Linked DNA regions of Homo sapiens: all the other regions are linked to region 4. The links are contacts of gene promoters, found by promoter capture Hi-C in blood cells and fetal thymus (Javierre and others, 2016). All regions are on one chromosome and are shown on one strand. The core of a region is centred on a gene start or on the middle of the fragment in contact, and the rest is flanking DNA. Distances in the headings are between cores, read along the strand shown. Region 1 overlaps ECHS1 (enoyl-CoA hydratase, short chain 1). Region 2 overlaps PAOX (polyamine oxidase). Region 3 overlaps BNIP3 (BCL2 interacting protein 3). Region 4 holds the start of INPP5A (inositol polyphosphate-5-phosphatase A).

Region 1 (2,964 bases), core at 360-2,859, 830 kb before region 4:
TACAGAAACCTTACAGGGGCTTTTCTTGTTTTTCCTGTTATGTGAGGTCTGTGAATTGCACCCTCAAGCAGCTCCTTTATTGAAAATGCAGTTTCAGCCGGGTGGGTGTCGAGCATCCGTAGCCCCAGCTTCCTGGGAGGCTGAGGCGGGTCGTTCGAGTCCAACTGGGCAGCAAAGCAAGACCCCGTCTCAAAAAAAAGACTTTTTTAAAAAATGAGGCCGGGCGCGGTGGCTCACCCTGTAATCCCAGCACTTTGGGAGGCTGAGGCGGGTGGATTGCCTGAGCTCAGGAGTTTGAAACCAGCCTGGGCAACATGACGAAACCCGTCTCTACTAAAAATCCAAAAAATTAGCCGGGCGTGGTGGCAGGTGCCTGTAATCCCAGCTACTCTGGAAGTTGAGGCAGGAGAATCGCTTGAACCCAGAGGCGGAGATTACAGTGAGCCGAGATCACGCCACTGCACTCCAGCCTGGGAGACAGAGTGAGACTCTGTCTGAAAAAAAAAATGTAACTCATTTTACCCATGTTTTTTTAGATCATTCCAATTATTTGGAATAGGCTCAAATGTATTCTAATAAGATAAGCTGAAGCTTTAGAGCAATATTTTATAAGATTTCTGCCAGTAACTTAAAGTAATTCCTCTAATTACCATCATAATTTTAATTTTCTTCCCTTTGAGGCAGAGTCTTGCTCGGTCGTCCAGGCTGGAATGCAGTGGTGAGATCTCAGCTCACTGCAACCTCCACCTCCTGGGTTCAAGTGATTCTCCTGCTTCAGCCTCCCGAGTAGCTGGGATTACAGGTGCCCACCACCACACCTGGCTAATTTTTGTATTTTTAGTAGAGACAGAGTTTCACCATGTTGGCCAGGCTGGTCTTGAACTCCTGACCTCAAGTGATCTGCCTGCCTCGGCCTCCCACAGTGCTGGGATTATAGGCGTGAGCCACTGCACCCGGCCAGATTACCATTTTAATTCATGTCTTTCACTGGGAGAAAGTCATACTTCGGTGTTTTAATTGTTCTATAAAATAAAAATTAAAAGTGGTTTGGGCACCTGAGGAAGGGGTACAGATGCGTGTGTGTGTGTGTGTGTGTGTGTGTGTGCGCGCGCGCACACCTGGGGACACACGTGCACACAGTGTAAGAAAAGCAGATGCAGAGTTGAGTTCTCACGTCCTACTCCAACACAGAGTAGCCCCTGATACAGGCCACCCATCATCCAGTTGATGACATGGTGAGTGACCAAGATGGGTGCATCTGAGGCTCTTTAGATGTGAGCTTGTTGGACATACACAGTGGCTCCTGAATGACCGTCACCTAGACTGGTAGAGAGAGGCCGTGAAAATCCCCGCGCCCAGGCCCAGCTCTGATTGGGCAGGTGTTCCTGCCGCTGAGTCCCCTCCCCGGCCCCCTGGGCCCCTGTGAGCATGAGTGAGGCAGAGCCAGGGAGAGACGGGCGGACATTGGCATCAGGCTCTGTGAGGATACTGCGCGTCCAGCTCTGTTTCTGTTCCTTTTCCTGCCAGGATGACCGGAAAGAAGGGATGACCGCGTTTGTGGAAAAGAGAAAGGCCAACTTCAAAGACCAGTGAGAACCAGCTGCCCCTGCTTCACACCTCTGCTTGGAGAGGACAAGTGCAGCCTGTCAGTTTTAGAAGCAAGTAAATCATCCTCTTTTCAAGAGCAGTGTCCGTGGTGTGCAGTTCCTCTCCAATTGCTGCGTGGTCGTGGCCCGACCTCTCACGGCATGACAGCCTTCGTCACCCAGCCTGTGAGGGTCCTGACTGGAGCACCTTCTAAATCTAAGATTCTGCTGAGGAGCCCCCGCTGGTCCCTCTGGGCATGCTGTGCTCGGACGGAAAGCGGGGCCTGCGGGTCCTTGTGTCCCTGCCGCTGAAGAATGGGGCTGCTCTGAGGGAAACGCTGTCTGCTGCCTTCATACAGATGCTGATTAAAGTGATAGCGATTCAGATTACACCACGCCTTGTAGTCATGTCTGCAATGAGCATTCTGTCATGTTAGTTGTTTTTTTAAACTTTTTTGTTTTTTCACTGTAAGGAACAACATTCAAACAAAACAAGTTTGTATAGTCAGTTGCCTCACATCATACTTCCAGGGTAGCCACTGTGAACAGCTGGGCTTGTGACTTCCTAGAGTTCTGTGCACGCACCCACACACCCCTGCACACGGGCACAGGCATGGTCTATGGTTTTCTTCCACGCCCACTCACGTCGAGCCCTTTCCTCACGAGAGCCCACCCTATTTTCTTCCTACTTCTGTCATAAGGAGCTCTCTGTTCAGTTTACTGCATTCTTCTCTACTGTGGGAACACACGACGTCAACTTGATCATCTTAACCACTGTGTTTTAGAGACGGGCTGGAGTGCGTGGCTCAGTCACAGCTCACTGCAGCTTGAATCTCCTGGGCTCAAGTGATCCTCCCCCCCTCCCAAGTAGCTGGGACCACAGGGGCGCACTCCCACACCCAGCTGACTGTTTAAATTTACCTTTTGTAGAGACGGGGTTTCCCCGTGTTGCCCAGGCTGGTCTGAACCATTTCAAATGCACATTTCAGCGGCATTAAGTACGTTCTCGTTGTGCAGCCATGACTATCCAAGAAAGCTTTCATTTTCCCAAACGGAAACTGTCCCCGTTAAACAACAACCCCTTTTCTGCTTCCCTCCAGCTCCTGGCACCCACGCTTCTACTTCCTGTCTCTATGGAGGGACCTCCATTTATCCCTTTGGGTCAGGCTCATTTCACTCAGCCCCACCCCAAATCCCTGGGTTGAAATCCTAACCCCTACCGTGACTGCATTAGGAGGGGGGACTTTGGGCAATGACTAGTCACAAGGGCAGAGCTCTTCGAGTGGGTTTAGTGTCCTAGGAGAGAGAGGGTGGAGCTCCTCCAGTGGGATTAGTGCCCTATGAGGGGGCGGAGCTCCTCCAGTGGGATTAGTGCCCT
Region 2 (2,731 bases), core at 77-2,576, 850 kb before region 4:
ACTTTAGTATGTTTGACATTTTGCACAGGAAATGTATCTCAAAACGTGGTAGCAGAAACATGTTTTTAGAGATGCAGTAAACTTAGCGATGAGAATCAGCTGGGAGCACCGTCTGAGAAGGGCAAAAGGGGCTCCACCTGCCATTTTGGTTTTATTTTCTTTTGTTAGCACTGCAGAATTCTCTGACTTTTTAAGCTGTGTGTGTATAATTCTCACAAAAACAGTACATTTAAAAATTATTCTTAGTTTCAAAAAGAAAATGGCTTCCGAGTCTGGGATCCCAGCCCACCCGCCACTGGCTGGTGCTCCTGCAGCGCCCAGACTCGGCGGGGGCCTCTGCAGCGGGACCCACGCCCCCCGACTGGGGCACGCCACATACCTGGGCGCCGGCGCCGTCTGCAGGGAGGGGCTGAGCCAGCAGGTCCAGGTCGCCCCCAGTACTGCCCACGGCCACGTAGCTGTAGGACCCCCTAGTGTACGGGGCGCTGTGCCAGCGAGACCGCAGGACGCTCTTGGGCGCGGGGAGCCGTGGGTTTCCTGAGCCACAGAGACACTGCATGTTAACCGAGAACTCTCACCCACAGGTCTGCAACTGTTTTTGTCATTTTTAAAGATTGAGCAGTTTAACGTGAAAGATGCTATGCAGGAAGAAAAGTGAGCAGCAGAGTGTGTCAGGAGAGGCTCTTCCTGCCGCCTCTGACCCGAGAGCAGTGGGCTGGGACCCGGGGGCCTCTGACCCGACAGCAGCGGGCCGGGACCCGGGAGCTGTGACAGCAGCAGCTACTGTTTCCGAGCCTTGGGTTCCTCCTCTGTAAAAATCTGATCAAGGACAACGGCATTTATTTTGGTGGCAGAAGTAGGAAGTGTTTGCAAAGTCATTTCAGTTCCTCGGAGGTAAGAACTGTTACTGACCCCACTAACATGAGGAAGGATGGTCCCTGGAGATGTACAGAGTCAGCCAAATTTAGTTTTTCTCTGTTCTGCAAAGTCTAGTTTCTGTTTAGAGATCAACCAGTAACGAGCAGAGGCAGGAACCAGCGTGTGTGGTGAGTACCTACCTGTCACTCTCCGGAGCACTTGGGTGAGACACAGAAGTACTTCTTCATCCGACAGAGTCTCCATGAACTCAGACTCAAGTCCGGCAATGAACCCACAGAGAACGTGGACAGACCTGCATGGAGAAAGAGAGCCCTGGGATGACCAGACCTGCATGGAGAAAGAGAGCCCTGGGATGACCAGACCTGCATGGAGAAAGAGAGCCCTGGGATGACCAGACCTGCATGGAGAAAGAGAGCCCCGGGATGACAGTGTCCAGCCCAGCTCTCCGCCCGCGTTTCTCAGCAAGGAACCACTGATGGAGCAGGGGCCCCAGAGGCACAAAGAGCCACCCCACAGAGCGTCCCTCAGGCAGCAGTTCGCAGAGTGTGGGCGGCAAAGTCCTGGGGGTCCGAAGGCCCTGCCAGGGACCCTCAAGGTCACAGCCATCTTCAGACGCTAAGACAGCATTTGCTGTTTCCACCACGCCGACATTTGCACCTGAGCAAGAGCCAGGGCAGGTAAACCGTCCCTTAGCAGAATCAGGCAGCAACAGGATCCACATGCGCCTACAGGCGTTCCCACCACTGCACATGAGGGTTACAAAATGCTGCTTTTTGCAGCCGTCAAAGAACGAGATCATGTCCTTTGCAGGGACATGGATGGAGCTGGAGGCCATTATCCTTAGCAAACTAACACAGGAACAGAAAAGCAGACAGCACATGTTTTCCCTTTCAAGTGGGAGCTAAATGATGAGAACACACACTGGGGCCTATGGGAGAGTGGAGGATGGGAGGAGGGAGAGGAGCAGGAAAAATAACTAATGGGTACTAGGTTTAATTCCTGGGTGATAGAACTAATCTGTACAACAAGCCCCCATGATACACGGTTAGCTACATAACAAACCTGCACGTATATCCCTGCCTCTGAATATAAAAATTAAAATATATATATTAAAAAATAAATAAAAATGCTGCTTTCACTTGAGAATGTCCTTGATCAAAGGCAGTAAAAGTTACTAATTTTATTAAATCTTGATCCTCGAGTTCATGTCTTTTTAATAATCTGCGTGGAGGGCCAGGCACAGTGGCTCAGGCCTGTAATCCCAGCACTTTGGGAGGCCAAGGCGGGCGGATCACGAGGTCAGGAGTTCGAGACCAGCCTGGTCAATATGGTAAAGCCCTGTCTAATAAAAATACAAAAATTAGCCAGGCGTGGTGGCGGGCACCTGTAGTCCCAGCTACTCGGCAGGTTGAGGCAGGAGAATGGCATGAACCCGGGAGGTGGAGGTTGCGGTGAGCCAAGATCGCGCCACTGCTCTCCAGCCTGGGCGACAGAGTAAGACTCCATCTCAAAAAATAATAATAATCTGCGTGGAGAAGCGGGATCCGCATAGAACACTCCTGCTGCGCGTGGTGCACGGTGGCCGTGGAGGACTCACCTAGCACACGCTATTCCAGGCGGGGCTGGTGCGTCTTTCACAGACAGGCTCAGAACTCAGGAGAGCACCAGTCAGACAAATCATGGTGTGGTATTTGGTGACATTTTCTTGAAAATGAGCAAAGTGTCTCTATCACAGGAAAACAACTAACAAATAGTATTTATAGACAATGACAAAGTTTAAGCTCTCAAGCAAAAACTGCAATTTTAGAAAAGCTTGTTTCTGCCACCAACAGCATAACAGCTTCCCAATCCT
Region 3 (2,855 bases), core at 77-2,576, 560 kb after region 4:
ACGTGAGTAGATACACAGCACGCTCCATTCTCCAGGAAGTGCCTTCCTTTCCTACGCGGTTGCTGTGGGTTAATAATAAAACTCCTGTCCCTTAGTAAATCATTCCTGGGAATACAGCTTTTGGGCCCAAAGTCATTAGCCATGGACAATCTGGAGTGAGTTTTTTTTCCTTGTTTCCTGGATTTTTAGGTCCTTTCTGGGGTGATGTTTAAAAAGCACTGCTTTGGTTCGAATGTGTTCCTCCATGTTGCCAGTGGGATGGTAGTAAAAGGTGGGCCTTTAAGAGGTGGCTCGGCCATAGGGGCTCCTCTCTAGTGAATGGGATTAGTGCTCTAAGGGGCTGGATGGAGGGAGGTGGGTCCCTCTGTAGCCTCATTGAAGGGATGAGGCAGGAAGGCCCTCAGCCGACACCAGATGTTGGTGCGTGGATCTTGGACTTCCCAGCCTCCAGAACAGAGATCAGTTTCTGTTCGTAAATCACTAAGTCTGTGGGATTCTGTTGCAGTAGCGCAGAGGATGACAGAGATACACTTGTCTCTCCTTCATCTTCCTCTCCCTGTTGTCTTCAGCCTGCCCCTTGTGTGATAGATTACAGTATGTGTTTGGTCTTGACCCTACCTACTTCCTGGTGCAGAGCACCTAAACCCCTGGGGCTTCCTGAGCAGTGTCTTTTTTTTTTGTTTGAGACACAGAGTTTCGCTATTGTTGCCCAGGCTGGGGGGCAGTGGCATGATCTCGGCTCACTGCAACCTCCCCCTCTCAGGTTCAAGGGATTCTTCTGCCTCAGCTTCCCGAGTAGCTGGGATTACAGGCGCCCACCACGCCCAGCTAATTTTGTATTTTTAGTAGAGACGGGGTTTCACCATGTTGGTCAGGCTGGTCTCTGACTCCTGACCTCAGATGATCTGCCCGCCTCGGCCTCCCAAAGTGCTGGGATTACAGGCATGAACCGCTGTGCCAATAAGTGTCTTAAGCATGTTTATTAAAGAAAGTAAAACAGTAAAAAGATGGTGACTCCATAGGCAGAACAACCTGACCAGTGTGTGCGTTATTCATAAAGTCACCCTATTAGCAGTGTACTCCAAAAGTGCTCCTTGGTTAACCATTTTTGGTGTAAGTTGTAAGGAGCCCCTTCAGAATACACTGCTAATACAGTGGCTCAAGGGTGGCCCCAGGATAGTTACTTGAGGTAGAAATTCCCAGGGCAGCCCCTCCTAGGAGGGGAGGGGACTGGAGATGGAGATGGGGGAGCCATGAGGTGCGGGTAGCATGGTTGGGGTTAGGGTTGGGACATGTGGGGTAAGTGGGAGTCTGGTTGCAGAGAGTGTGGTTGGGGTTAGGGTTGGGACGTGTGGGGTAGGTGGGGATCTGGGCTGTATGTCATTTCCATTTGTCTGCCCTGGAATTGTTTCTGGTAAACTGATAAATGTAAGTAAAGAGTTTTTCTGAGTTCTGTGAATTGTAGTAAATTACTGAACCTGAGGCAGGTGTGTGGGATCCCCTGAGTAGGTAGAGGCACTGGCAGAAATACGGGTAACCTGGACACCCCATTCTCTGCTTGCATCTGTGGGAACAGTCTTGTGGGCTCCACACTAAGTCTAGGTAGATAGAATGGAATTGAATCGTTGGACACCCCGGTGGTGGTGACTTGGTGTCCCACATTTGATGTTAAGAGTGGCATCAGAGAAGAGACACCACACCTTCAAGTTGCATTTGTGTTCCATATCGTCAGATAGCTGAACAACACTTTAGTCAAGTAAATTGAAGCAGGCCCAGAATCTGAATACTGTAGATTCAGCGGAGAAAGACAGCTGGCCAAAACAGAGGCTGTGGTGCCGTTCTCTCAGGGGCAGGCCATGGCTAGCCGGCCGCATGGCATCTTGAACCGCAGAGAGGGAAGGAGGGCTAGTGAACATCAGAGTACTTGGCAATACTGTCTGGTCAGATGAGCGGCTTCAGGAATGGTGTGGTCTGTACATCTCAGAAGGCACCATGTAGCCTCTGCCAGAGTGTGGGGCAGACTGGCCTGGGCCTTTCTCCTCCATTGAGCTCCAGGCTCCGAGACAGACCCTGGCTTGCCTTTGTATTAGGGATGTGCTTCGTGTAGGCCAGGACATGAGGCAACGTGAGAGGCCAAAGAGAACAATCATGCGTTCATTTGAAAATTTGTGTGATCATTTCGTTAGCAGCTTACTGGGAGACTGTTGATGGCATAAGTTGCAAATCCACTTTTCCTTCCTGGGCCTTCGGTTTGCTTTTTTCTGGTTAATATGAAATAGACTCTGCAACAAGTGGCGTATGGAGCCTAGGCCAGCCCTCTTTCAGGAGAGATGCCTCGTGTGTGTGGAAAGCTGTGCACCTGCCTTTGCTTCCAGCGAACATGACGGATGAAGAGGCTGCTCCTTTCCCCCTAATTGCATGGTGTTATTAGTGCTGTGTTGGTTTAAGGACAGTCAGCAGCTCAGGGTGATTATTCTGCTTACTAAAATTATAGTGACTGCAAAAATGAGATAATTCCATTGTTCTCGTCCATAAGTTTCCCTGTCTTTTGTGGCCTGCACTTTCCTCCCACTGCACTCCATCCTCCATACGCTACCAGAGGAAGCTCCTACCAGATTTGCTTTAAATAAATAAACCTATGACACAAAGTAGAGAGATTATCTGGGGCCCAGAAATAGACGTGTGCCTATATGCACGCTTGATTTCTGACACAGGAAGCAGCCAGCGCAGAGTGAGGCGGGAGCTGTCTGCAGTAAATGGGGCATCCGTCTCACATCAATGGGAAAATTAATCCATGTAGATTTTGGATCTAAATGTGACTGTCATAACAGTAGAGCTGTGTGAAAATAATAGAA
Region 4 (3,127 bases), core at 56-2,555:
CAGGATTCAGGGGCAGGAGCTTGTTGGAGGAAGGGGCCAAGGATGGGATCTAGGAACCAGAGTTAGGGGCAGGGTCCAGAATTGGGTTTGGGGCCTGATTCTGGAACCAGGGTTCCAGGTTCAGGGGTCAAGGACAAGTGTTCAGGGCCATAAGCTGGGGCCTGAGGTTGAAATTCAGGGTTCAGAGTCAGGCTAGATTGGCTTTAGAGGCAAAGGGCCACAGTATGAAGGCTGGGATTCTAGGGCTAGAATTCAGTGATTGGGGAACAGGGACAGGAGGTTGGGGCCACAGCCCTGTGTCAGAAGTTCCTGGGTTAGGGTTTGTGGTTATGTTTCAGGGTTTGGGGTCCAGGGCTCAGGGACCAGAGACAGACGTTTGAGAGCAGGTTCTGTAACCAGAGTTCTGCAGTCAGGATTTGTGGTTCCAGTGACCATGGACCTGGGGTTCAGGGCCAGGGTTGGGGATGGGCATTCCAGGGCCAGGGTTCTGAGGATTCGGAAATCAGGGCTGGGGCTGGGTTTGGTGCGCACAGACCCGGTTTCTGGGGTTTGGGTTCCAGGAACTGTTAACAGGGGTTCTGACAGGGTTTTAATATTGGAGTTTCGAGGTCAGGATTTGCAGACAGGAGTTCAGAGGCAGGGTCCCAGGGTCAACGGTCAGCTGCTGGAGTCTGGAGGATGGGGTTCGGGGATTCAGGGCCCAGGTCTTCAGGTCTCGGGCTTGGGGATCAAGACAGGGGTCTGGGCTCCCAGACTTGGGAATCAGGACAGGAGTCTGGGGTCCCGGGTACAGGGATCAGAGTCTGGGGCCTCTGGGTCTGGAGGTTCACGGTCCAGGGTCCAAGGCTTGCAGTTCGGGACCCCGGGGTCAGGGTCGGGGGTTCCGGGCTTGGGGCCTGCCGCCGGCACGGGGGACTTACGTCGTCGAAGAGCGAGCCCACGTTGGCCGTGACCAGCAGCACCGCGGTGCCCGGGGCGGCCGCCTTCCCCGCCATGGTGCCCGGGCGGCGCGGGCGCTGGGCTGGGCGGCGGCGGCGGCGGCCGCTTCCTCCGGGACCGGCCGGCCGGGGTCTTCGCGGGGCCGCGGGGCGTCAGCTGCGCCGGGGGGCGGCCCCGGGGCGCATCGCGGGCTCGGCGGGTCGGCCGGGCCTGGCCGGGGCTCCGGCCTCGCGCTCGCTCGCTCGCTCGCTGCTCCGCGGCCCCGCGCCCGTCGCTCGCCGCCGCGCCTCACAGCGGCCCGCGCGCAGCCATTAGATCCGCTGGGAAAGTTCCCGCAGCCGCCGCCGACTCAGGCTGAGGGCAAGTCCCGCCCCGCGGAGCCGAGCCCGGGGCGGGGCCTGGGCGGGGCGGAGCCTGACTCGGGGTGGGGCCTGTGCGGGGTGGAGCCGGGCCTGGGGCGGAGCCTTGCTGGGGGCGGAGCCTTGAGGTGCGGAGCCTGAGTTGGGCCTAGATCTGAACAGAGTGGGGCGGGGCCTGCGGGGGGCGTGGCTTGTGCGGGACTTGGTGTCCTTGTGGAGGCGGGGCCTGCCCCGGGGCGGGGCCTCCTTTCGGGGCGGGGCCTACGCGGGGCGCTCTTGCGACCGGCGGCCTAGTACTGGTCGCTCCCGGAGGGCGCTCCTGTCAGTCAGGCCCGCAAGAACGCCGCGCCCCCGCCCCGCCCCCCGCGCCGCGGCTGCGCACAGACTCCGCCCTTCGCACTTCTATGACGTCACGGCCCTGCTCCGGCGGCGCCTCTTAAAGGGGCCCTGGGTTCCGGGCGCCGGCGGCGGGTGCGCTCTCTTGCGGCTCTGAGGGGATGTTCCAGCCCCCGCGCGGCCGCAGTCGTCCAGCCGCGTGCCGGGCGTGCGGGGGAGGGGAGCCCACCGGGGCGGCGGCAGTCGCGCCTGCAGGGGCCGGGCCACGCGCGCCCGGCTCTCCGCGCAGACGGAGCGTGGACCGTGCAGCTTCCCGGCGCGTCCACCCGGCTCCCTGGCCGCGACCTCACTCACGAGGAGCGGCTGCGGCCCAGAGAAGACGGAGGGGAGGCGGCGTGAGGCCAGGCGCATCCTGACGTCGCGGAGGGCTCCGGCCCGGGCCAGGCTGGGTCTCAGCGCGGGGCGTGCAGGGAACCCTCGCAGGGACGAAGGGGGCTCCAGGGGAGGGGGCTGGTGCGGGCCCAGGAGCGCAGAGCACGGAGGAGCAGCCGGCTCGGCGCGGGCCCCGGGGCAGCGATGCTGATCCTGGCCGCCGGAGGGGCCAGAGCATGGGCTGGACCCTGGGTCTGAGGCCGCGGGGACACAGCCGCCGTGAACCGGGACATGCCTGTAGATGGAGGAGGAGAACCACATTTGTCATCTTAAAGCTTCCAGTAGCTACATTTTTTAAAGGTAACAAGTAATAGCCAAAGTTAACAATACGTTTTACTTAACCCAATAGATAGATACATCATTCAACATGTAACCAGAATTTAACAACCTCAGTGAGATTCCTTCACAGGAAGGCTTTGCACGGGCACCTGCCTCTTGGCAGCAGCTCACAAGGCCGCTTCCAGTGCTCAGCAGCCCTGTGTGGCCAGTGGCCACCATGCGGAGCAGGCACTCCGGAGGATTTTGTGGACACAGATTTAGGGGCGGTCAGGGCCTGGCAATGGGCTCTAGCGAGGCTAGCCTCCAGCTTCTGAGTAAACCGCCAAGGCAATGCCCAATGACATCAAAAGGGGCTTGTTCTGTTCTAGGAAGACACCTGCTGCCAGGGCGGGGCGGCAGGAATGGTGCTGCAGGCTCGGGCCCCAGGCCTGTGCTGAGGCCGCATCACTGGCTTGTGTTAACACCCCCAGGGTTCCTCCTTACGGCCACCGCTGAGCAGGACTCCAGCAAAATCCATTTGATGTATAAACCAATGTCTACTTTAGTCAGTAGGTGCCTGCTACAGACTGAATTCCGCCCGCCCCACCCCACCCCACCCCGCAAATTCATGGGTTGAAGCCCTAACCTCCAATGTGACTGTATTCGGAGGTGGGCTAGCGGGGGTAATTAATGTTAAGTCGTGCAGTAGGGCTGGTGTTTAATGTTAAGTCGTGCAATAGGGCTAGTGTTTAATAGAAAGGGCTCAGTGCTGTCCCCACCCTTACATGTGCAAAAGAAGTGGC

What was found. The method cuts DNA at HindIII sites, captures the fragments that hold promoters and counts their contacts. A CHiCAGO score of 5 or more calls a contact.
Region 1: a fragment that was not itself captured here is called in contact with the fragment with the promoter of INPP5A in region 4 in 1 of 17 cell types (neutrophils); the score reaches 5.2 in neutrophils.
Region 2: a fragment that was not itself captured here is called in contact with the fragment with the promoter of INPP5A in region 4 in 7 of 17 cell types (fetal thymus, naive CD8 T cells, total CD8 T cells and 4 more); the score reaches 7.9 in fetal thymus.
Region 3: a contact is called between a fragment that was not itself captured here and the fragment with the promoter of INPP5A in region 4, in 4 of 17 cell types (total CD4 T cells, activated CD4 T cells, non-activated CD4 T cells and 1 more). The highest score is 6.6, in total CD4 T cells.

The regions. Positions count from the first base shown.
Region 1 is chr10:133,361,497-133,364,460 of GRCh38, reverse strand. ECHS1 (enoyl-CoA hydratase, short chain 1) reads left to right here. Exons shown (of 8, transcript NM_004092.4): 8 at 1,528-1,976. The coding sequence ends at 1,593. Among named protein-coding and RNA genes, the nearest start is that of FUOM, 5.0 kb to the right of the region's middle. The HindIII fragment of the contact is 2,031 bases long and covers 594-2,624 here.
Region 2 is chr10:133,387,396-133,390,126 of GRCh38, reverse strand. PAOX (polyamine oxidase) reads right to left here. Exons shown (of 7, transcript NM_152911.4): 5 at 1,059-1,171; 6 at 380-537. Among named protein-coding and RNA genes, the nearest start is that of MTG1, 5.4 kb to the left of the region's middle. RefSeq lists silencers at 239-318, 908-1,202, 1,459-1,616 and an enhancer at 1,369-1,498. The HindIII fragment of the contact is 2,734 bases long and covers 1-2,693 here.
Region 3 is chr10:131,975,100-131,977,954 of GRCh38, reverse strand. The region is part of intron 1 of BNIP3 (BCL2 interacting protein 3); the gene reads left to right. Among named protein-coding and RNA genes, the nearest start is that of BNIP3, 5.4 kb to the left of the region's middle. The HindIII fragment of the contact is 4,564 bases long and covers 1-2,855 here.
Region 4 is chr10:132,535,965-132,539,091 of GRCh38, reverse strand. INPP5A (inositol polyphosphate-5-phosphatase A) reads right to left here and starts at 1,305. Exons shown (of 16, transcript NM_005539.5): 1 at 921-1,305. The coding sequence starts at 995. LOC107984282 (a long non-coding RNA gene) reads left to right here and starts at 2,169. Exons shown (of 4, transcript NR_158224.1): 1 at 2,169-2,366. RefSeq lists an enhancer at 355-404 and a silencer at 1,185-2,284. The HindIII fragment of the contact is 3,408 bases long and covers 1-2,343 here.